Linked DNA regions of Homo sapiens: regions 1, 2, 3, 4, 5 and 7 are each linked to region 6. The links are contacts of gene promoters, found by promoter capture Hi-C in blood cells and fetal thymus (Javierre and others, 2016). All regions are on one chromosome and are shown on one strand. The core of a region is centred on a gene start or on the middle of the fragment in contact, and the rest is flanking DNA. Distances in the headings are between cores, read along the strand shown. Region 1 holds the start of VN1R1 (vomeronasal 1 receptor 1). Region 2 holds the start of ZNF17 (zinc finger protein 17). Region 3 holds the start of ZNF548 (zinc finger protein 548). Region 4 holds the start of ZNF304 (zinc finger protein 304). Region 5 holds the start of ZNF749 (zinc finger protein 749). Region 6 holds the start of ZNF324 (zinc finger protein 324). Region 7 holds the start of AURKC (aurora kinase C).

Region 1 (3,206 bases), core at 447-2,946, 1.0 Mb after region 6:
ACACTTCTTTCTGAGGCTAGGAGGAGAAGGAGGTGGTATGTTAAAGTCAATAATCACACTAACTTTATACATACAAGAAGCTTTCAAAATAGTCATAGTAAAAATGGTACTTTATAAGGAGAAGCTGAAAAAATAGGAAACCAAATGCATATTGGAAATAAATTATACAACTAGGACAATGGAGCAAAATAAGAGATTAAAGCAAAGAATCAGGAACTATCTTGAAAATAAATGATGAGTTCATATAAATAGGAAAAACATTTGTCAACAAGTGGTTTGTGGGAATCTAAAAGGTTTTCATACCTCAGAGCCTGAGTTTTTTTTTTTTTTTTTTGAGACCGAGTTTCACTCTTGTTGCTCAGGCTGGAGTGCAATGGCATGATCTCGGCTCACTGCAACCTCCGCCTCTGGGGTTCAAACGATTCTCCTGCCTCAGCCTCCCGAGTAGCTGGGATTACAGGCATGCGCCACCACCTCTGACTAATTTTTGTATTTTTAGTAGAGACGGGGTTTCTCCCTGTTGGTCAGGCTGGTCTCGAACTCCCGACCTCAGCTGATCCACCAGCCTCGGCCTCCCAAACTGCTGGGATTACAGGCGTGAGCCACCTCTCGCCTGAGAATCTTGATACTGCTGTGTTATTGATTGCTCCACCCCTAAAGAGATGTAGTTATTCATGGGAGAAAATACCTCATAATTTTCCCTGATGATAGCAATTCCATAGAGACACCAAAAGAATCTAAATTATGGCCGGGCGAGGTGGCTCATCCCTGTAATCCCAGCACTTTGGGAGGCCGAGGCGGGCGGATCACGAGGTCAGGAGATCGAGACCATCCTGGCTAACACGGTGCAACCCCGTCTCTACTAAACACACACACACACACACACACACACACACACACACTAGCCGGGCGTGGTGGTGGGCGCCTGTAGTCCCAGCTACTCAGGAGGCTGAGGCAGGAGAATGGCGTGAACCCAGGAGGCTTCAGCCTCCCGAGTAGCTGGGACTACAGGCACGCACCACAACACCCAGCTAATTTTTGTATTTTTAGTAGAGACGGGGTTTCACCATGTTGGCCAGGATGGTCTCCATCTCCTGACCTTGTAATCCACCCGCCTCAGCCTCCCAAAGTGCTGAGATTACAAGCGTGAGCCACCGTGCCTGGCCGCAGTTACTATTTCTTTTGTGATTGATATATATGAATATTGTGCAATGAAATTCCCTCCCAATTGAATTATCTTTCCCTAAAAATAAACCCAAGCTTTCTGGAACATATTGAATTTCCTATTTAACAAGTTTTAAGGATATCTTAGGTGTTTCTGGGATTAGTATTTATTTTCAGGATCTTTTGCATTTACTTGTGAGAAATGGCATTGAGATAAAAATGTGTGGGCTCAAGGTGGTCATGGTTATTTCTACGGAGTCAATTCACAATCTCTAGACCTGTCCGGTGGAAAATAACAGAAATATATGTGCTTAAAATAAAATATACCATGATGCAATGTTGATTGTTCCAAAAATTATAGTTTTTAAAAATTCTTCAAGTTAGCATTTGTACTGTGCTGAAGGCCTTGTTACCAATTGTATTGTAGCGTTTTTTTAATTTCTTTTTTTTTTTTTTTTGAGACAGAGTCTCGCTCTGTCGCCCAGGCTGGAGGGCAATGGTTTGATTTCAGCTCACTGCAACCTCTGCCTCCCAGGTTCAAGCGATTCTCCTGCCTCAGCCTCCCGAGTAGCTGGGACTAGCACGCGCCGCCATGCCCGGCTAATTTTTGTATTATTAGTATTTTGTATTATTAGTAGAGACAGGGTTTCACCATGTTGGCCAGGATGGTCTCCATCTTGGCCTCCCGAAGTGCTGGAATTACAGGTGTGAGCCACTGCACCCGGCCTAAAATTTGTTTCAATGCATCAATAACAATGGTGTTTACTAAAATATTAGTGTGGAAAAGGTTTTATGGTGTATTATTTTTGCTTTTCATATCTCCAGGCTACTTAATTGAAGGTTTTATTGAAATAAGTGTAGACTCACAAGCAGTCATAAGAAATAATACAGAAAAAGCCCTGTCCATATTACCCAGGGTTCCGTCATGATTACATTTTGCAAACTATAGTATAATATCACTCTAATGATATTGACTCTTCTGTGTTCTGTTTTTATATATTTCCCTAGTTTTGCTTGTATTTACTTGTTGCATGTGTGTAAGCCCTGAGTTTTATAGGTTTGATTTGTGGATCTGTTGTGCGGTTGAGCCCTCATTCATTCACCTGCTTCTCTGCAGTTGGACACACAAGCAATTGCCTTTGCACGAACAGGGACAATCTTAATTTCTGTTTAAGATGAGAAAATATGGTTGGAGACACATTAAAACTTCTGTCTCCACTGATGACAAGATACTTCTTTCTGCTTTTTTATTCTACTGATTCTTCAGACCTCAATGAAAATCAACATCCCCTAGATTTTGATGAAATGGCTTTTGGAAAAGTAAAATCAGGGATTAGCTTCCTCATTCAGACTGGAGTTGGGATCCTGGGAAATTCCTTTCTCCTTTGTTTTTATAACTTAATTTTGTTCACTGGACACAAGCTGAGACCCACGGACTTGATTCTCAGCCAACTGGCCTTGGCTAACTCCATGGTCCTTTTCTTTAAAGGGATACCTCAGACAATGGCAGCTTTTGGATTGAAATATTTGCTGAATGACACTGGATGTAAGTTTGTCTTTTATTATCACAGGGTGGGCACAAGAGTTTCCCTCAGCACCATCTGCCTTCTCAATGGATTCCAAGCCATTAAGCTCAACCCCAGTATATGCAGGTGGATGGAGATCAAGATTAGATCCCCAAGGTTTATTGACTTCTGTTGTCTCCTCTGCTGGGCCCCCCATGTCTTGATGAATGCATCTGTTCTTCTATTAGTGAATGGCCCACTGAATAGCAAAAACAGTAGTGCAAAAAACAATTATGGATACTGTTCTTACAAAGCATCAAAGAGATTTAGCTCATTACATGCAGTCTTATATTTTTCCCCTGATTTTATGAGTTTGGGCTTCATGGTCTGGGCCAGTGGCTCCATGGTCTTCTTCCTCTACAGACACAAGCAGCAAGTCCAACACAATCACAGCAACAGACTCTCCTGCAGACCTTCCCAGGAAGCCAGAGCCACACACACCATCATGGTCCTGGTGAGCTCCTTTTTTGTTTTCTA
Region 2 (3,113 bases), core at 462-2,961, 1.1 Mb after region 6:
CAACATTCAACAATTATTAAGTGAATAAATTTAACTATTGGTTACATTCATTTCTAACTGCCGACCTATGTGTACATATTTAGAAGGATACTGGTTCATTAGTGGTTAAATAAATGTTTTATACATTCGGCCGGGCGCGGTGGCTCATGCCTGTAATCCCAGCACTTTGGGAGGCTGAGGCGTGCAGATCATGAGGTCAGGAGATAGAGACCATACTAGCTAACACGGTGAAACCCCGTCTCTACTAAAAATGCAAAAAATTAGCCTGGCGTGGTGGCGGGCACTTGTAGTCCCAGCTACTCGGGAGGCTGAGGCAGGAGAATTGCTTGAACTCGGGAGGCGGAGCTTGCAGTGAGCCGAGATCGCGCCACTGCACTCCAACCTGGGCGATGGAGCGAGACTCTGTCTCAAAAAAAAAAAAAATGTTTTACACATTCATAAATAAATAAGTTGCAGGGAGGGGATAAGCAAGCAGGTCAGTTACTGGTCCCATCAGCAACCAGGCCTGCCTGCTACAAATTCAGTTGCTGGAAGCTTGCTGGAGGCCCTTGACTAGATGTGAGAAAGCCCTACCCCCGTCTGGACCCAATGTCCCCACTAGTCTGGATGACCTTCCTATTGTTCCACAGAGTGGGCCTGGGGGGCTGCTGGGTCTGCAGGTGCAGAAATCTAAACCACCTCACACCTCAGTCTCCAGCCTAGGCCAGTTCCTTAACCCATTCAGAACTCCGTTTTTGCAGATATGAGCCAGAATCCCTCCTATGACAGGTCTGCGCCTTTCTAAAGGTAGCGTCAGGCTTATGGACCCACCCATGATCTGCCCTCCAAAACTCAGCCCTCCAAAATGCAACTCATAATCCTCTCTGAAACCTGCTCCCTAAGCTGACTTCTCCAACTCCATTCTTTCAGATTTTCAGGCCAAAACAAAATCCATGGAATAGACCCTTCACTACCCTCACTGCTACATTTGATGCAGCAGGAAATCCTGTCGACTCTATCTCTGAGATCCATCCAGAATCTCATCACACTTCCCCTCTACTGCAACCCCTCTGGCCCATCCCTACCATAACTCAAGGGGTCTCCTCAGCGGTCCCCTTGTCCTGGTTTAACATCCTGTTTTTCCCAACTTTAAACGTCTACCTCTGGGCATAACCCTTCCTGCACAGCCTTCTACGGCTTTCAGCAGCTCCGCTGCCCTCCCAGGCGAGACTCCGCCTCACCCTCAGCTCCGTGGAGACAAAGACGCTCGGGCTCCCCAGTGCCGCCCGCTCTGCAGCACCTCTAAGCCTCGCACGTGCAGGTCCCTGACAGGAGCTCCCCCGCCTCACAGCACCGCGGACACCGGTACCCCACACAAGAACGCTCCTCTCTTTGGGACACAGGGGCCTGACCTGCAGGGCCCCTCCTCGGGGCTTCGGCACTCGGAGGAGGGATCGGGCGGGGCGCCCTGGGACGCGGCACCCACCTCAGTCAGGTTCATCGGCGCAGCCTCCGCCAGCACAGCCAGGGAAGAGCGGGGCGGGAGCGGCAGTGACCTGGACGCTGACAGAGGCACCAACGCCTGCAACCGATTCAACCGAGCCTCACTCTAGCCTCTGTACAACGGGGAAACCTTTTCTCGCGTTTTTCCGCTTTTTCACCTCAGTCTCGACTCAGCCTGAAGGTGAACAGATCCCAACGCAGCCATATTGACAACCCCAGGAGGCGTTGCAGGAAGTCCCGCCCACACGCATTGCGAACCCCCGTAGACGCCGCTCTGCTAGGCCTTCATTGGCTACACTCGCTGCTTGTGTCCGCCGCTGTGTCTTTTGGGTAATGTAGTTCCCAGGCCACTGCCTGCCCCGCTTCTGAACTTAAGTTAACTCGCGTTCAGGATGAAAGCCAGGAGGATCCTCCTGAGGCTTTGAGAAATGCAGTTGCGGGGCTCCAAGGACGTGGAGGGGCTTCATTGGCTTTTAAACGGCAAGCATCCAGATTTTCCCGGAAGGCAGTCTAGAACAAGTCAGAGAAATGTTTCAGAGACCTGTCCTTTCAGATTCTGTAAAGCACAGCAAGTTCCCAAAAGACGAACATCCGAAGGAACATGGCCAACCATAAAGAACTGGTCTTCCACGCATAGCGGTCAGCTCTTTTGTGCTTGCCAAATACACACAGAACGAAGCTCTGGAGACTGTTTTATGATCTTCAATGTGCTCTGCTGGGCACATTGAAAAGACCCAGACATGGCATGATGGGGAGTTTGAGGAGTAATATCTTTCCTTTCTGAATAATCAGTTATTGTCTTTCAGCCTACCCAGCAACACTTTATTCACATGATACTTATTACTTTATATCTGAGATATTTTCCACTTATTTTAAGAGACTGAAACCTAACTGAAAAGGAAAAGCGACTTATCTACCATTATCTGCCAGAATAGTGTGGCCTTCCACCAGTCAAAGCCCTTGTGCAAAGAAAGCATCTTACTCCTGAGATAAAGGTTTGGGAATGCATGATCTCATCTCATTAGTGGAAAGTGATTTATCATTTCGCCTGAAATTGTATCAACAGTGTCTGCACAGGGAGTTGAAATTGTCTCTGAATAACTCTTGTGAAATGGCTATTACTGAAACTATTAATGACGATTATGTAGATATCCAAAGAAAGTGGCAAAAATAGTTATAGAGAAACATATTTGTGATAGGAGGAAAAAAGCTAAGGTTGTCCTGGAACCTTGGACACACTCAAGTTTGGTGTCCAAAATCTGATTCTTTTTCAAACTTGAAAACATTGTGCATTAACAGCTTGAAGGGAGAGGTAAAGACTATATATTAAAAGAGTTACCAGAAAAGTAAAGCTGAATAGGGAAACTGTGCTGTCGTATTTATTACTCTAACATATTTGATGAACACTCATTCGATGCCAGGTACAATACTAAGTGCATGGGACACATTAGGAGTAGGGTTGCTAGCTGTCTGTGGTCCTCTAAGACACGTAAGACGTATTTAATGAATTAGTCCTCAGTCCTGTATTGACCTTGTCAGGTCACTTTAAATGTCCTGTATTCCGCTTTTTACAATAAATTACAAAACCTCAGAAGTTAGAGCTATTTTTCTACCACTATAATTGTAAATTA
Region 3 (3,265 bases), core at 727-3,226, 1.1 Mb after region 6:
GGAGCGAGACTCCATTTCAAAAAAAAAAAAAAAAAAAAAACAGTAAGCACAGGGCAGACATTTTTCAAAAAGAAGACACATAAATCGCAAGCAGGCATATAAAAAAATGCTCAACATCATTAATCATCAGACAAATTCAAATTAAAACCACAGTATCTCCTTACACCAGTCAGAATGGCTATCATTTAAATGTCAAAAAACAACTGATGTTGCCCAGGATATGGAGAAGAGAAAAAGGTTACACACTGTTGGTGAGAATGTAAATAAGTACAACCTCAATGGAAAACAGTATGAAGATTTTTCAAATAACTGAAAATAGAACTGCCATTAAATCCACCAATTCCACTACTGGGCATCTACCCAAAGGAAAATAAATCATTACATTAAAAAAAACATGTATTTTTATCACAGCACTATTCACAATAGCAAAGATAGGGAATTAACCAATTATCCATCAATGTATGACTGGGTAAAGAAAATGTGGCATATATATACACAAGGTAATACCACTAGGCCACAAAAAAAAAAAAAAGCATGAAACTATGTCTTTTACAGCAATGTGGATGGAACTGGAGGCCATTATTAAATGAAACAACTCAGAAACAGAAAGTCAAATACCAAATGTTCTCACTTACAAGTGGAAGCTGAATAATGTGTACACATGGACAAAGAGTGTGGAATGACAAACATTGGAGACTCCAAACAGGTAGAAGGATGAGACGAAGATGAGTGATGAAAAATTACTTAATGGATACAATGTACATTATTCAGGCGATGGATACATTAAAAGCCCAGACTTGACCACTATGCAAATATATCCATATAACAAAACTGCACTTGACTCCTTAAATTTATGCAAACAAACAAACAAAAAAAACCCGAGACCGACCTACTCAATCTGATCCTCAGACCATTCTCTGGCCCAGTCCAAGCCCTCCATCCGTCTGGTATCGCCAACCCAATCCCCTTCCTCAGACTCCACACCTTTATGTCCACCTGTCTGTGTGACATATCCATCTTGAGACATTTGAGAATCACCATGTCCAAAATCCAACCTGTGATCTTCTCCCGGAAATCTGCTCTTTATGCTGACTTCCCCAACTCCATTCTTCCAAACGTTCAAACAGAAAACAAAAAACAAAACAAACACTTGAAACGGTTCTTCACTGCCTTTGTTCAGACATAACTGAAGCACCAGGAAAACCTACGGGCCCTATCTTTCAGGCCTATGAAGAATCTCATCACATCTCCCTCTACTGTCACTGGTCCAGCCCCAACCATAATTCTCCTGGGTCTACTGCAGTGGCCTCAGGGCCTTTTCGCGTCTCCCTGTGTCCATTCCTAACCTGGTTTTCCTAACTTGAAACTTCGAACTCTGGACCTGCCCCCTCCAACTGTCCCTCCCTTGACAACCTTCCATGGTTACTGGCTGCTCAGGTTGCCATTCCAAGCGAGAATTCACAAAACCCTCTCTTTCCCGCAGAAACAACACACACCCCTGACGCCCCAACACAGCCCACTCGGCAGCGCCTCCATGCTCTGAACCTGAGGTCCCTAACGGGAGCTCTGAGGCTGCATCAAATCGGCTGATACGGGGACCCCACACAGGAACGCCCCTCTCTTCGGGACAAGGGGCCTGACCTGCAGGGCCCCTTCAGGGGGCTTCAGCACTGGGAGGACCGGTCGGGCGGGGGAGCCTGGGACGGGACACCCACCTCAGTCAGGTTCATCAGCAAGGCCTCCGCCAGCCCAGCCAGGGAAGAGCGGGGCGGGAGCGACAAAGGCAAGACAAGGACGCCACTGTCCCCAGCGCTTGTCAGTTGACTCACTCCCGCCTCTCCGTGGTGGGAACCGAGCCGCTTCTCGCGCTTTTCCGTTCCGTCACTTCGGTGACGTCAGACAGAGCCATAGGCCGAAGTTGGTGAAACACCACACAGAACCAAAACGACCACCACCAGGAGGACGGCGGAAGTCCCGCCCTCCGACGGTGCGCACGCACGCAAACGTCCCCTTCTAAGCCTTTATTGGGTAAGTCGTGCCGCCGAGAGCTGCAGTGTCTTCTGGGTTATGAAGTTTCGACACCGCTTCCGGACTTGTCTTAGAGCGTTGATCAGTCCTTATATGGCAGATAAAGGCCCAGTGGCACTGTCAGGGGAGCTGGGAAACGGAGTCCCCGACTCCAAAGACAGGAGGGGGCTTGGCTTGCTCTTAAAGGCAACATACGGTATTTTTTTGGATTGTAGTATAGGATATTTACAGAAATGTTAGCAACTTATTACTTAAGACTCTATTAAGCACAGCTAATTCCCAATAACTACAGGTCCAAAGAGACACCCCATACCATAAAGGCAGTCTGCCTCTACTCATGCCTGCCAGCCATATTATTGCTTTTCAAATACACATACAGTTACGCTTTGGCGTCTGTTTAGTAAGCTTCAATATGTTTGGTCCAGAAGAAGAAAGAAAGACTACGCAGTTAGGGCTATGGACTGGAATTTGTAGGAAGGATGACAGGAGACGCTGAAGTAGGTTGAAAGGGTGAAGCTATGCCTCTGGATCAAAGAGAATACATCTTACCTGACTGTAGAGTCAGCGATTGTGTTCCTACGAAGGGTGCAACGCTTTTATTCTAATAATACTTACTACTTCATATCTGAGATATTTTCCATTTATTTTAAGAATCACAATCCTATCTGAAAATGAGAGTGACGACCAAAATGAGTGATTGAGGCATAAGTCACAAATCATGGAGGATTACTGGACCAGCCTAAGGGCACATCCAGAAAAATGTAAGTCACAGAAGCATCTGTGGCTGGTTTTTCCAAAGAGGTTCTTAGGAGGTTTAGTATTTATTATACATTTTCCTTAAAAAGGAAGAGGGGTTGGCAGTGAGACAAATGATTACAGACATGTGAAACTTTAGTTAGTGCCCAGTAAATCTACATTTTACATAAGATAGAGTAAACACGTGAGGGGAAAAGGGAATAAAGAAGATGTCTCAGAGAAGGATGAAGGAATGAATAATCTCATCTTCTCTCTGTTCTGTACCTTGGAAGATAAGCTAGTAGTCTTCTGAAAAGGTTGATTTCTATTTAGCCCTTAGGGAAGAAAACCTAATGATTGTAGTGTGGTAGGGGATATAATGAGGTGTGTCTGATTTCCCGTTCCTCTATAGTGGTGAATTCAGCTTCCAAAGTTATTCTAGGGTTCTCATGGTCAAGAGGGCATCCATTCAGTCAGTTAGGGGGTGCTTAGAATTTTATTT
Region 4 (3,214 bases), core at 535-3,034, 1.1 Mb after region 6:
CACCATTTTTTTCAACTTCTTCAACAGAACCCTTCCCCAGAACTAAAAACCTGTGTGTTTTCCTGAGGCCTCAACTAAGATGACAACTGAGACCTCTTAACCTAAACATGACCAAAGCCTAACTCCTGATATAACCACTAAAAATCATACCTGCTGCCAACTTCTCTATCTCAGTTGATGGCATTTTCATAATTTTACCAGCTACAGCAAAAACAAACCAACCTTAGGGTCATCCACGACTCTCCTCTCTTTCACCTTTCGCATCAAAAAATCCAATCACCCTACTTTAAAAAACAGAAAATTTACCAACTTCTCTCACCTCCACAGCCACACCTCTAGACCAGACACCATCAACACTACTGCAGTAGCTGCTCCCTCATGCTCACAGTCTGTTCTCAACCTGAAAGCCAGAGAGAGCATGTTAAAATCTGAGTCAGATCATCTCCCTCCTCTGCTCCAAATCTCCCACGACTTTTACCACACTCAAGACACCTCGGCCAGCCATTCCTGCCTAACTCCTTCCTCTGATACCTGTTTCCAACAAAGGTAATTAAGACCTGAGATTCCCTGAGCGCTCCAAACTCAATCCTACAAGCATTTGAGCGTACCTGTTCCTAGGTCTGATATACTTTTGCAGTACTCATCCCATTGGTCGCCAGGTGGGGACTTCTCCACATAACTCCATACAACTCATGGCCTGGATTCAGGACACTAAACTAGAAATGACCTCCATTCACTGCCCCCTGTCTCAAGTGAAGACAGTCATGTGAAGAATCCCAGGATATCATCACTATGTCTCATCAGAGAATCTGGTCAGCCTTCCTTATAAAATACATACAAAACCCAAAACCCATACATTCTCTAACCTCTGCTGCCACCACTCTGGCCCAGACCATCAACGCTCACCTGGACTATTTCAGTAGACTTCATCTTGATCTCCCCGTCTACCCTATAATCCCTAGTCTACCCACTCTGCAGCCAGAGGGAGCCTTTTAAGAACTGCGTCAGAGGACCTCCCTTCTCTGTACCAAACCTTGCATGACTCCCAGCACCCTCAGAAGAGAGGACCAGCTCCTCGGGCGGCCATTCCAGGCCTACCTCTGACCCCCTAGTCCCTGTTCTCACCAGGCACAGAGAGTTCCCGGAACTCCCCAAACTCATTCTCCTCTCCATGCATGCATTTGTACGAACTGCCCCTGCGCCTTCGAGTCCGTTCCACACCTTATGCCACTGATGAGGGGAGCGGAACCCCTCCACATAATGCGACGGAGTGAGCACCCTGAAGTGCGCGATGAGAGCGAACATCCCAGGACACACCAACCAGGCCGGGGTGCGCTTGAGGGATGCCCCCACTCACCTGAACCCGGTCCATCAGCACCGCCGCTGCCATGAGAAGCGGATGAACAGTCTGTGCCCTGTGGGCTCAGCCGAAACCCCACGCCTCCACCGCGCTGGACGCCCTCGGGCTGAGTGTAGCACTCCAAGTCTCAATCTACCCGGTGTAAAAACGCTCACAAGACTAAGGCGGCTGCTTCTGGGGGAGACAAGGACAAGAGGACGTGTGTGGAGGCCTCGGTAAGAGCCCAGCCCCGGCAGACACCTCCGCGAGAGGCCGCCCGTCCCACGACAGGGGTCATGGATTGTAACAAAAGCGCGAAGGAAGGTCCTGCAGTCTTCACTGTCTTTCTTTGCTAGGTTCCACGAGAGCCGCGTAGAAAGCCGACCCGATCTCTAGAACTCAGCCTTCACAACCAGAATGCACGGACCGGGCATAGGAAAAATACGTCACGACGGCGACGCCAGAAGTCTCGCCCCTGCAGCCCAGAGCAGCAGGAAACGCCCAGTTTCTGGGCTGTCATTGGCTGCACGCCGGCTAACAATGAGCTGGGCACAGATTTCTGGGTAACGTAGTTTGTACCCTGCATCCAACCAGGCAACGAGCGCCTTTCGGGTTCTCCCGGATGTCTGCCAAGAGGCGTCGTGCAGGGAGGGGGAGAAAAGACTGGGAAAACGATATCTCGGAGGCCACAGCTGCTTTTAAAGGGTATGCACCCTGATTTCCATGGCCACCTGGGACAATGCCACGCCACTGAAGTCGCCAGCAAGGGACCCATTCTTCAATCCTGCTTCTGAGGCCCTGGGAAACCTGCTTCACCTCTCTCAGATTTGGGGATTGAAACGTATTAATAAATTGAACGTTGTCTGTATTTCGTTTGTGGGCCTTTTTGTAAAACATTGAATGTCCTTCTAATTTTTCTAACATATAAAGAAAAGAGATGTAATTAGCTACCTTTCTGCTGGCTGTACAGGAAGCATGGTGCCCGTATCTGCTTCTGGTGAGGCCACAGGGAACTTTTATTCATGGCGAAAAGTGAAGGAGGAACTTACATGTAACATGACGAAAACATGAGCCTCTTCTAATTCATTGCTTCCCAATTTGATATGTAGTTTTACAGCATCAGCTTCACTATGAACTTAAAAAACCTGTGAATTCTTGGACCCAACCTATACCTTCTGATAAACTCTGGGGATGGGACCCTAGCTGAAGTTCAAGAACTGGAGGTCTTTTAAAGTCATTAGCCAAAAACAAAACAAAACAAAAACAAACAAAAAAAAATCAGTAAGATGAAAAACACTACAACCAACCTCATTAGGAATATGGGAAGTGAGGTAAAAAGTACTTAACACCAGGCCTGGCACATCGTGCTAAATACATACAAGCTGTTATCAGTCTTCCTCAACACAAGGTTCTCACATACACTGCTTTAGGAAGATAAATCAAAGATCCACCTTTTCAGGATCAGTGTGATTTTGAAAAAAAAAGAAAAAAGTACAATTATTCCCTCACTCATCAAATAGCATCATAGATAATAGTTATAATTTTTTTTTGAGACAGAGTTTCACTCTTGTTGCCCAGGCTTAAGTGCAATGGCACGATCTCAGCTCACTGCAACCTCTCCCTCCCAGGTTCAAGCGATTCTCCTGCCTCGGCCTCCCGAGTAGCTGGGATTACAAGCATCCGCCACCATGCCCGGCTAATTTTGTATTTTTAGTAGAGATGGGGTTTCTCCGTGTTGGTCAGGCTGGTCTCGAACTCCTGACCTCAGGTGATCCAACTGCCTCAGTCTTCCAAAGTGCTGGGATTACAGGTGGGAGCCCCTAATGGTTATAATTTTTGCACAAAAGCACACCAATATATCAATAGACTCATTTA
Region 5 (2,811 bases), core at 153-2,652, 1.0 Mb after region 6:
AGTAAAGGGAGCTTGCTGGAGGCCCTTAACTGTGGTGGAGGATGTGAGAAAGCCCTGCCCAGTTTTGGACCCAGTTGCTGCATGGCCTTATCTTGTTCCCTAAAGAGTGGCCCTCAGGGCCAGCTGAGTTAGAAGGGTGGAGTGACTACAATTATCTCATGCCTCAGTCTCTGTATTCCAGGGCAACTCCTTATCCATCCAGGCCTCTTTTTCAACAGAAACAGACCAGACTCTTAGCCCATATCTGCTCCCTTCTGCAGGGAGTATCAGAGATGCCCTCCCTACCATGGTCTTTCCTCCAAATCTGAGCCCTCCCCTACCTCAGCCCATATGAAAAAACGATGTAGGATTCTTCCTTCTCAATCTGATCCACAGGCCAACTTCTCAAGTGCACAACTTCTAACTCATTTAAAGCTCCAGGCCAGCTACCTTCCCTCACCTTTGGAAATTACGTCCACCTACCCATGTGATGTCGCCCAAAATCCAACCCAGGATCTTCTGTCTGAAACCCGCTCCTTAAGCTGATATCTCTAATTCCATTCTTTCAGATTTTTCAGGCCAAAACAAAACCTATGGAAGACACCATTCACTACCGACTTTCCCTCACAGCTATGTTTGATGCAGCAGGAAATCCTGTTGACCCTATCTCTGAGATCCATCCAGAGTCTCATCACATCTCCCCTCTACTGCAACCCCTCTGGCCCAGCCCTACCATAACTCAAGGGGTCTCCTCAGCGGTCCCCCTGCCCCCGTTCAACATCCTGTTTTCCCCAACTTTAAACTTCTAACTCTGGGCGTGACCCTCCCATTCGTCCTCCCTGCACAGCCCTCTATGGCTCTCTGCGGCTCCACTGCCCTTCCAGGGGAGACTCCGCCTCAACCTCTGCTCCTTGGAGACAAAGACGCTCGGGCTCCCCAGTGCCGCCCGTTCTGCAGTGCCTCCAAGCCCCAGAGACGTGTCGGTCTCCGACGGGAGCTCCCCCGCCTCATCGCACCGCAGTCCCAGTCCCGGGCACCCCACACAAGAACGCCCCTCTCTTAGAGACACAAGGGCCTAACCTGCAGGGCGGCTCCTTGGGACTTCAGCACTGGGAGGAGGGGTTGGGCGGGGCGGCCTGGGACGCTGCACGCACCTCGGTCAGGTTCATCGGCGCGGCCTCCTCCAGTCCACCCAGGGAAGAGCGGGGCGGGAACGGCGGTCACCTGGACGCTGACGGAGGCAGGGGCGCCTGCAGCCGACTCAGCCGATCCGCACTCTAGCCTCTGTGTAGAAGGAACACCGCTTCTCGCGTTTTTCCGCTCTTTCACCTCAGTCCCGACCCAGAGCTCTGGGACCCTCTAAATCAGTGAACAGATCCCTAGGTAGCCATGCTAACGCAACCATGAGGGCGCCGCCAGAAGTCCCGCCCACACAATTGAGACCTCATTAGTCGTCTCTCTGCTAGACCAATGGCTACACTCGCTGCCCTGCCCCCGCAGTGTCTTCTGGGTAATGTAGTTCTCACGTTGCTGCCTGTGTCGCCCGCAGTGTCTTCTGGGTAATGTAGTTCCCACGCTGCTGCCTGCCTCGCCTCACAATGCTGGGCGCGCGGACCTTACGGAAAAAAGCTGGAGGCTCCTGGAGGAGCGTTAAGAAATGCAGTTCCGGGGCTCTTAAGGACGTGGAGGGGCTTTGCTGACTCCTAAACTGCAAGTAACCAGATTTTCCCGGAGAGCAGTCTAGGACAAGTCTGAGAAATATTTCAGAGACCTGTCGTTTCAGATTCTCTGAAGCACAGCAAGTCCCGAAAGGAAGAACATCAGAAGCGACATGGCTGACCATAATGAACTGGTCCTCCATTCATAGCGGTCAGCTCTTTTGTGCTTGTCAAGTACACACATACTGAGGCTCTGGAGACTTTTTTTTGATCGTTAGTGTGCTTCTGTTGGGACAAGAAAGAAAAGACCCACACAGGATGTGATGGAGAGTTGAAGGAGGAATATCTTTCTGTCGACGAAAAGGGTGGAACTTTGTGAAATAGTTGAAGAGATTTATTCTGAGACAAATATGAGTGACTAATGGCCCATGACACGGCTCCAAGATATCCTAAGAACATATGCCCAGGGTGGCCCATCTACAGCTTGGTTTTAACAATTTAGGAAGACGTAAGACATCAATCAATACATGTAAAATGTACATTGGATTCCTCTGGAAAGGCGCAACTGGAAGGGAGGGGCGGGGCTTCCAGGTCAGGTGGGTTCAAAGATTTTCCGATTGGCAATTGGTTGAAAGAGTTTGTATCTAAAGACCTGGAATCAGTAGAAATGGTTGTCTGGGTTAAGGGGTTGTGGGCCGGGCGTGGTATCTCACGCCTGTAATCCCAGCACTTTGGGAGGCCGAGGTGGGCGGATCACCTGAGGTTGGGAGTTCGAGACCAGCCTGACCAACATGTAGAAACCCCATCTCTACTAAAAATACAAAATTAGACGGGCATGGTGGCACATGCCTGTAATGCCAGCTACTCGGGAGGCTGAGGCAGGAGAATCGCTTGAACCCGGGAGGCGGAGGTTACGGTGAGCCGAGATCTCGCCATTGTACTCCAGCCCGTGCAACAAGAGCGAAACTCCGTCTCAAAAACAAAAAAAGACAAGGGGTTGTGAAGACCAAGGTTATATCATGCAGATGAAGCCTCCAGGTAGTCTTATAAGGCCTTATGATAAGGCCTCAGCTCCTGAGCTAAAGCTATCTTCCCACCTCAGCCTCTAGAGCAGCTGGGACTGTAGGTACAGGACACCGTCCCTGGCTTTATTCAGCTTTTTACAATGCACTAC
Region 6 (3,151 bases), core at 555-3,054:
TCCATGATGTCCCTCAGACACTCACCCTCCTTCCCTGGGTTCTGCCCCCACCATCTTCAGATGGCACTTCCCTCACATGTCTGGGACCCCTCCCCTCTGCCCTCCCTGACCAGACCCCAGATGCCTTCTTGGCCTCCCCACTGGCAACGCCATACACAAGCAAGCTAGAACAAGTCCTGGCTGGGCCCTCAGCTGCCACACCAAGAGCAGCCCCAGGTGTCCACTCGTGACTCAGCATGACCACTCATGACCCTCCCCAGATGCACCCTTCCTGCTCTTGTAGCAAGAAACTGTGAGTCCCAGCAGGGGCTTCCCAGGCATACCCATCACTGGGACCCTCCCCTGCTGAGCCTGCTTGCCTGACATTTCCAGGCTGCTCATCCAGCCTGAGGGACTGGATGATTCTCACCAGTCGCCACAGGGGAGCAGCCTCAACAACCTGTGAACACAGAGGAACTCAATCCCTTCCTCCTTTCACCCGGTGTCCCCTTTCTTCCCCTCTCTGTTGCCACCCTCCCCTCCTCAGTTAGGTGCTAGGCTCTTCCCAATAGCCCCAGGCATCCCAGCTGGTCTTCTTTACCCTCAAGCCATAACTGCCCACACCTGGCTGAGTCCCTGCCCATTCCTCAGTCCAATTCATAGGCCCTGTCCACAGCCCAGGACGCCAACAACGTCAGGTCCAGTGACATGACCAACCTGGGACATCCCAGACTCTTGATCTTTCCCCTGAAGGAAACCTGCTTTCCTTTCAATTCTCCTTTCTATCTACAGCAGCTCTCTTCTTCCAGGCGCTCAGGCTGAACAACATGGGGTACTTAGTTCTTCAAACAGCCCACACCTGATGCATCCGCAGATCCACCAGAATTCACCTGGTCGCCCACCTCCACTGCTGCCCAGACTGTGGCAGTCGGTTCTTCCCTTCATGCCGACACCCCTGCATGTCTGTTCTCCACGCAACAAACGGTGGAACCGTTTTAAAGTCCTCAGAGGATGTCCTGATTCTGTTCAAAACTTCTATGTCTCCCGACGCCCTCGAGATAAAGCCCACTCCCTCGCCTGATACTGCAGCCGCACACATCCCCTCTACTCCAGCTCCACATCGAGAGAGCTCAGTCCCAGAAGCACCTGGGCTTCGGCTCCCCTCCCAGGTTTTGCACACGCAGGACTCTCCCCTCGGAGCCTCCTTCGGGACCTCAGCCCCCTGGCTGCCCGAACTCGGGAGCTCACCAGTGCCCTGGACGCAGGAGTTTGCACTGACCCCCGCAACCCCCCCAGGGCAGGGAGAGGAAAGACGACTAGGCGAGGTCTAGGAAGCGGCCTCCCTCCGTGAGGGCGCGGTCTGTGTGAGCAGGGACTCCCCTGCTTCCCCGACGCGGGCTTGTCAGCGCCACCGCCGCCAGCGGAACCCGCAGCTGGGAGGGAAGAAAGGCGTGGACCACCCAGCCTTTCCCCGCCAGCAGCGTCCCGGGGCCGCCCCGCGCCTCAGTCTCCCCGGCCATCATGGACGTGGAACGCCCAGCGCGCAGCCTCCTGGGCTGCCGCACGGTGGGAGAGCGCATGGCTCCCGCCGCGGCCCGACAGTCCCCTGGACGCCCACGACGCACTCTGAGAAACAGAGGCTTGGGGGCGCGGCCGGCGGCCGGCGCCCTTGATCACGACGCGTGCGCAGGGCGGGCCCGACGCGGGCCCTCAGCCAGTACCTTCCTCGCCGCCAGCCTCGAGCACCAGGAACCCCCTGGAAACCGGACCCGACCCGCGGTCCCCAGCCCAGACCACCGGTGTGGCCTGACGCGGGCGGCGAAGTGACAGTCCCACCGCCGGAAGTCCAGCCCTTCGGTTCTCATTGGCCCAGTGCGCGCCGCGGACGCTTGCGTACAGCCTTCCGGGTCACGTGGTTCCCGCCTGTTTCCCTGCGTGGAGGCGGGGCCACTACCGGTCTCCTTGGCAACGTCCAAGCCCCTGCCGCGCGGGGCGCTGGGAAATGGAGTCGCGCGGCGGCCTCGGGTTTTCAAGGGCTTGGTGGCGCTGGTGGATTCGCCCGGTGTGTAGTCCTGCCTTCGGCATTCCAGGTGTCCTCCCAAGCAGTCCCGGAGACTAAACCCTGCAGGTGCGAAAGCAGAAACTGCCGAGGTTCCAAGAGGCAACACCAGCAGTGAGCACGGAGGAGAAAATGCACCGGGTAGCGCAGGTGGAGGTGGAGGAGCCGATGCCTGGAGCTCCGGGTTCCCTTCCCAGCTCTGCCTCTCACTGACTGTGCGTCCTGGGCGCGGGTTTGACCTCTCTGTGTCAATGTCCCGTAAAGGTTTAAGGTCCGTTTTCAACCTTTACACCAAGAATTCTCAGCCCGTAAGCCTACATTTGTCTTAAGTATGAGACTGTTCCTCGACACTTGCCCAAAGCATCTGTTTTCCTTGTAATTTGGATGGGCAGAAGTTAATTCCCCAGATTTGCTTGTCCTTAGACCATCTAGATCTTGTCTTGCCCCACACATCACAATATTCATTCTTTTTTCCTTTTTTCTTGGGACTCATTTAAGTTTTTTTTTTTTTTTTTTAACAGGGTCTTTGTTCTGTTGCCCGTGCTGGAGTGCAGTGGCACAATCTCGGCTCACTGCAACCTCTGCCTTCAGGTTCAAGTGATCCCCCCGCCTCAGCCTCCGTAGTAGCTGGGACCACAGGTGTGCGCCACCATGCCTGGCTAATTTTTGTATTTTTTAGTAGAGATGGAGTTTCACCATGTTGGCCAGGCTGGTCTTGAACTCCTGACCTCAGGTGATCCGCCCACCTCGTTCTCCCAAAGTGCTGGGATTACAGGCCAATTTAAGTGTCTTTGACACATAAAAACGAAAGGCAGAGCAGTCTCAATGTAGACTGTCTTGTTTGGCAGATAATAAAAGGTTCTTTGTCTTGTTTTTGGAACCTGTAGACAGTTCTCAGCTGTCCAGTTCCTTAACTCTTTTTGCCTCCCTCCCTCTATACCTACCTCCATCTATAACTATCTCTCTGTCAACTGTCAGCTATAACTGTCCACCTAATTGATTCTACTTGTAAATCCTTGTAGAGCAAGGGAGCTCATCATGTTTGGAATGTTTTAATATAAATTTTGCTACTTTGAAAGAATTTAAGAACATTTCAGGACTGGGCGCAGTGGC
Region 7 (3,018 bases), core at 519-3,018, 1.2 Mb after region 6:
GAAGTAAACTTCTCAGAAGGCAATGCGGACCCTCCTGACAGCCACAAACAGAGCTCCCACCAGCCCACAGTAAACTCAGAGACCCCAGAGCCTCCAGACCCGCACCTCACCGTGGCTGTGCGCTGTTCATCTAATTTCTCGCTTTTCTGCAGCTCCTTGTAGAGCTCACCCCTTGGAGCATATTCCAGAATCAGGTACACCCGGCGTGCATCATGGAAATAGTTATACAGGCGCAGGATATTGGGGTGTCTGAAGGATTAATGTTGGAAGAGTCAGATTTCTCCCTGAGGCCTATCATATGATGCCACCGTCACTGCCTGGTCACACAAGTGGCAAATTATGCTGGGACCAGAATAACAACAGCCCTATCTGGGAGCAAGTGAGGGGAGAACGGAGAACAGGAACCAGGATTCGAGTGTCTGACCCAGGGTAGGAGGTAGTGTAAATGGAATGAACTGCAGAGAAGTCTTCAAGGTACAAGTGCAGGGTTTACTTGGGGTTAGTATTTGGGGAAAATGCTGGGCTCAGACGTCAAAGATGAAAGAGGAAGCAGAGACTGTCCTTACTGTAGATGAGCCTGGATCTCAATTTCCCGGCGCAGCTGGTGCTCCAGTCCTTCCTTCTCTATCTGCGACTTGAAGAGAACCTTCAGGGCCACAATGAAATGGCTTTCCTTGAGCCGAGCCAGGTACACATTCCCAAATTTCCCCTTGCCCAGGGGACGCCCGATTTCAAAGTCATCGACTGTGAGGCGCCGCCTGACAGGAGAGGAAGAAAAAAGCCTCAGCTTGGGAGGTAGGGTAGGCGGAGGGAAAGTCAGGGATGCCAATGCTCCCCTTCCTCTTTCATTGTATCCTTCCTCTGCCGCTTTCCCTTCTCACACAGACCCAGCCCTATCAGTAGTTCTCGTTCCCAGGAGCCAGCACCCCACACACCCAGTCTGTTCTTCATCCCCACGTCCCACCTTCCTTCCTTTTCCAGATACCAATCCCAAGGGACTCACATGGCTGGGCTGCTGGGCTGCTGGGCTGTTTGGTTTGCTGTAGCCACTGAAAGAGAGGAGGAGGAGGGAGATAGGAAGGGAGAGGGGAGGGAAGGAGAAGGGGAGAGAAAGAGAGGAGAGGAGAACAGTAGAGAAGGGAATAGGGAGCGAGAGGTGAGGGGAAGAAGGGGAGGAGAGAAAGAGAGGGAAGGGGAAGGCAGGGAGAGGGGGAGGGAGAGGTAAGGGGAAGAAGAAAGAGTAAGGTAAGGTAGGGAGGGGAGGAGGAGGTGAAGAAGAGGCAGAGAGAAAGGAAGGGGAGGAGAGAGTAGGGGAGGGAGAGGTGAAAGAAAGAATTGGAGGGAAGGGAGGGAGTGGGGAGAAAAGAAGAGCGTTGGGGAGGAGGAGAGGGAGGGGAGATGTCAACACATGTGTCTTCTGTGCACCCGACCCCTGGCCCAGTCCCCAGCCTTCCCTGCGTCCTTTCTCTGGCGCTGGCTCTCACACTCTTCGCCTGCAGGTTGAGCTTTGCCCAGCTGCACCACAGCTCTGGGGGAGCTCATGGGGAGAAGAGGTGAGGGCGCGGACGCCTTCCTGAACCCTCTGGATGGCTGTTCCCGTTCACAGGGTCCTGAAAGGGGTGGGGGGTCACTTTCTGGCCGGGGCGCTTCCAATCCTGCTCGTCCTGCAGCCTCACTGATGTCTCACTGCTACACAGGCTTCGGGATCCGCGGCGTCGTGAGCAGCCGTGGCTGCGCGGCCTTCTTTTATACCCGGCACCAACCGCTCAGAGAGGTACTTCCTGGCTGGCTCCTATTGGCTGAAATTCCTGACGCCATCGGAAGTGCGCCCAATAGAAAGGACAGAAACGGGAGCCTCAGTCCAGGGTTCCCGGGTTGGGGCGGAACTGGAGTGCTGCGGTCCGGGCTGGGCACTGAAAGCGAGGGCCAGGGGTGAGGCCCGAGAAGGAAGGAGACAGAGGGTGCGGAGAGGTGGTGATGGCCGTTGTGGGAATGAACAACGCATACACCCACGGGGTGTGCATGCGTCAACTAGGAGAGAGCCGCGATGCACGTGGGAATGAACAGACGCCCACTCCTGACGTGCTGGAGCCTCGTGCAGCCCGTGACCCTAAACCACTTCGCGCCTTGTGCAGCCGGCGACCCCAAAACCACCTTGCTTCAAGGTCACGTCCGATTCAGGCCACTCTCCAGGGTCACCGCGATGGGGCTCCCTGAAGCCTGCGGCTGTGCCTGCTCACAGCCAGGACGCCACCAGTCCAGCTCACTTACCCCTCTCCTCCCACTCGCCAAATATTTGTTGGACCCTGTAATCAGTTTGTGGATTTGGCCTCAGATCGTAAAATCAGCCCCCACGTATTTGTTTAGCAAACACATAAGTTTCAAAAACATTAAAAATTGAATTCTTTTAGACAGGGAACATATCTTGCAGAAATATAATTGAAGGCCTGGCGTGATGGCTCATGCCTGTAATCCCAGCACTTTGGGAGGCCGAGGCGGGCGGATCACCTGAGGTAGGCAGTTCGAGACCAGCCTGGCCAACAGGGCGAAACCCCGTTTCTACTACAAAAATTAGCCGGGTGTGGTGGCGCATGCCTGTAATCCCACCTACTCAAAAGGCTGAGGCAAGAGAATCGCTTGAACCCTGGAGGCGGAGGTTGCAGTGAGCCAAGATCATGCCACTGCACTCCAGCCTGGGCGACAGAAGGAGAACGAGACTCTGTCTCAAAAAAAACAAAAACAAAAACAAAAAAACCCAAAAACAAAAAAGCTCGTCTCAAAATATTTGGGGAGACCTATTTGAGTAATAAAACTCTGGTCTCTCATTTAGCTCGATTGATGTGAATTAAACCCTTTATTGCAATTATCCTGTCTTGATAAGTCGACTCTATCTGGGGAGCAGGGAAAATAATGAACCCATTAGGTGGTTACAATAGGTGGATCAGGGTAATGGCGCTTAGCTCAGGCCAACCATTCCTTTCTCAGAGGCTTTCCCAAACCTGTCTGTTTGTTTGTTTA

The links. Contacts are between HindIII fragments. The CHiCAGO score rates a contact against its expected background, and 5 or more counts as called.
Region 1: a contact is called between the fragment with the promoter of VN1R1 here and the fragment with the promoter of ZNF324 in region 6, in 12 of 17 cell types (total CD4 T cells, fetal thymus, naive CD8 T cells and 9 more). The highest score is 16.4, in total CD4 T cells.
Region 2: a contact is called between the fragment with the promoter of ZNF17 here and the fragment with the promoter of ZNF324 in region 6, in 4 of 17 cell types (fetal thymus, non-activated CD4 T cells, neutrophils and 1 more). The highest score is 9.4, in fetal thymus.
Region 3: the fragment with the promoter of ZNF548 here is called in contact with the fragment with the promoter of ZNF324 in region 6 in 9 of 17 cell types (non-activated CD4 T cells, total B cells, monocytes and 6 more); the score reaches 12.5 in non-activated CD4 T cells.
Region 4: a contact is called between the fragment with the promoter of ZNF304 here and the fragment with the promoter of ZNF324 in region 6, in 1 of 17 cell types (naive CD8 T cells). The highest score is 5.3, in naive CD8 T cells.
Region 5: a contact is called between the fragment with the promoter of ZNF749 here and the fragment with the promoter of ZNF324 in region 6, in 10 of 17 cell types (neutrophils, activated CD4 T cells, naive CD8 T cells and 7 more). The highest score is 12.9, in neutrophils.
Region 7: the fragment with the promoter of AURKC here is called in contact with the fragment with the promoter of ZNF324 in region 6 in 4 of 17 cell types (neutrophils, naive CD8 T cells, non-activated CD4 T cells and 1 more); the score reaches 16.6 in neutrophils.

Annotation. Positions count from the first base shown.
Region 1 is chr19:57,455,630-57,458,835 of GRCh38, reverse strand. VN1R1 (vomeronasal 1 receptor 1) reads left to right here and starts at 1,696. Exons shown (of 1, transcript NM_020633.4): 1 at 1,696-3,206. The coding sequence starts at 2,350. The HindIII fragment of the contact is 5,648 bases long and covers 1,263-3,206 here.
Region 2 is chr19:57,409,759-57,412,871 of GRCh38, reverse strand. ZNF17 (zinc finger protein 17) reads right to left here and starts at 1,711. Exons shown (of 4, transcript NM_001330617.2): 1 at 1,466-1,711. RefSeq lists a silencer at 1,012-1,214 and enhancers at 1,458-1,517, 1,598-1,707. The HindIII fragment of the contact is 5,033 bases long and covers 537-3,113 here.
Region 3 is chr19:57,388,565-57,391,829 of GRCh38, reverse strand. ZNF548 (zinc finger protein 548) reads right to left here and starts at 1,976. Exons shown (of 4, transcript NM_001172773.2): 1 at 1,716-1,976. The coding sequence starts at 1,730. RefSeq lists enhancers at 1,719-2,198, 2,339-2,418. The HindIII fragment of the contact is 17,908 bases long and covers 1-2,435 here.
Region 4 is chr19:57,349,841-57,353,054 of GRCh38, reverse strand. It overlaps ZNF304 (zinc finger protein 304), which reads right to left and starts at 1,784. Exons shown (of 3, transcript NM_020657.4): 1 at 1,358-1,784. The coding sequence starts at 1,390. RefSeq lists enhancers at 1,482-1,551, 890-1,748, 1,702-1,791, 1,749-2,608. The HindIII fragment of the contact is 5,195 bases long and covers 1-3,214 here.
Region 5 is chr19:57,433,916-57,436,726 of GRCh38, reverse strand. ZNF749 (zinc finger protein 749) reads right to left here and starts at 1,402. Exons shown (of 3, transcript NM_001023561.4): 1 at 1,134-1,402. The coding sequence starts at 1,148. RefSeq lists enhancers at 838-887, 1,518-1,817. The HindIII fragment of the contact is 4,352 bases long and covers 1-2,811 here.
Region 6 is chr19:58,465,733-58,468,883 of GRCh38, reverse strand. It overlaps ZNF324 (zinc finger protein 324), which reads right to left and starts at 1,804. Exons shown (of 4, transcript NM_014347.3): 1 at 1,701-1,804. RefSeq lists enhancers at 304-423, 842-1,456, 1,457-2,073 and silencers at 1,555-1,684, 1,765-1,814. The HindIII fragment of the contact is 6,014 bases long and covers 1-3,151 here.
Region 7 is chr19:57,229,773-57,232,790 of GRCh38, reverse strand. It overlaps AURKC (aurora kinase C), which reads right to left and starts at 1,768. Exons shown (of 7, transcript NM_001015878.2): 1 at 1,485-1,768; 2 at 1,004-1,049; 3 at 567-758; 4 at 111-249. The coding sequence starts at 1,542. The HindIII fragment of the contact is 17,293 bases long and covers 1-3,018 here.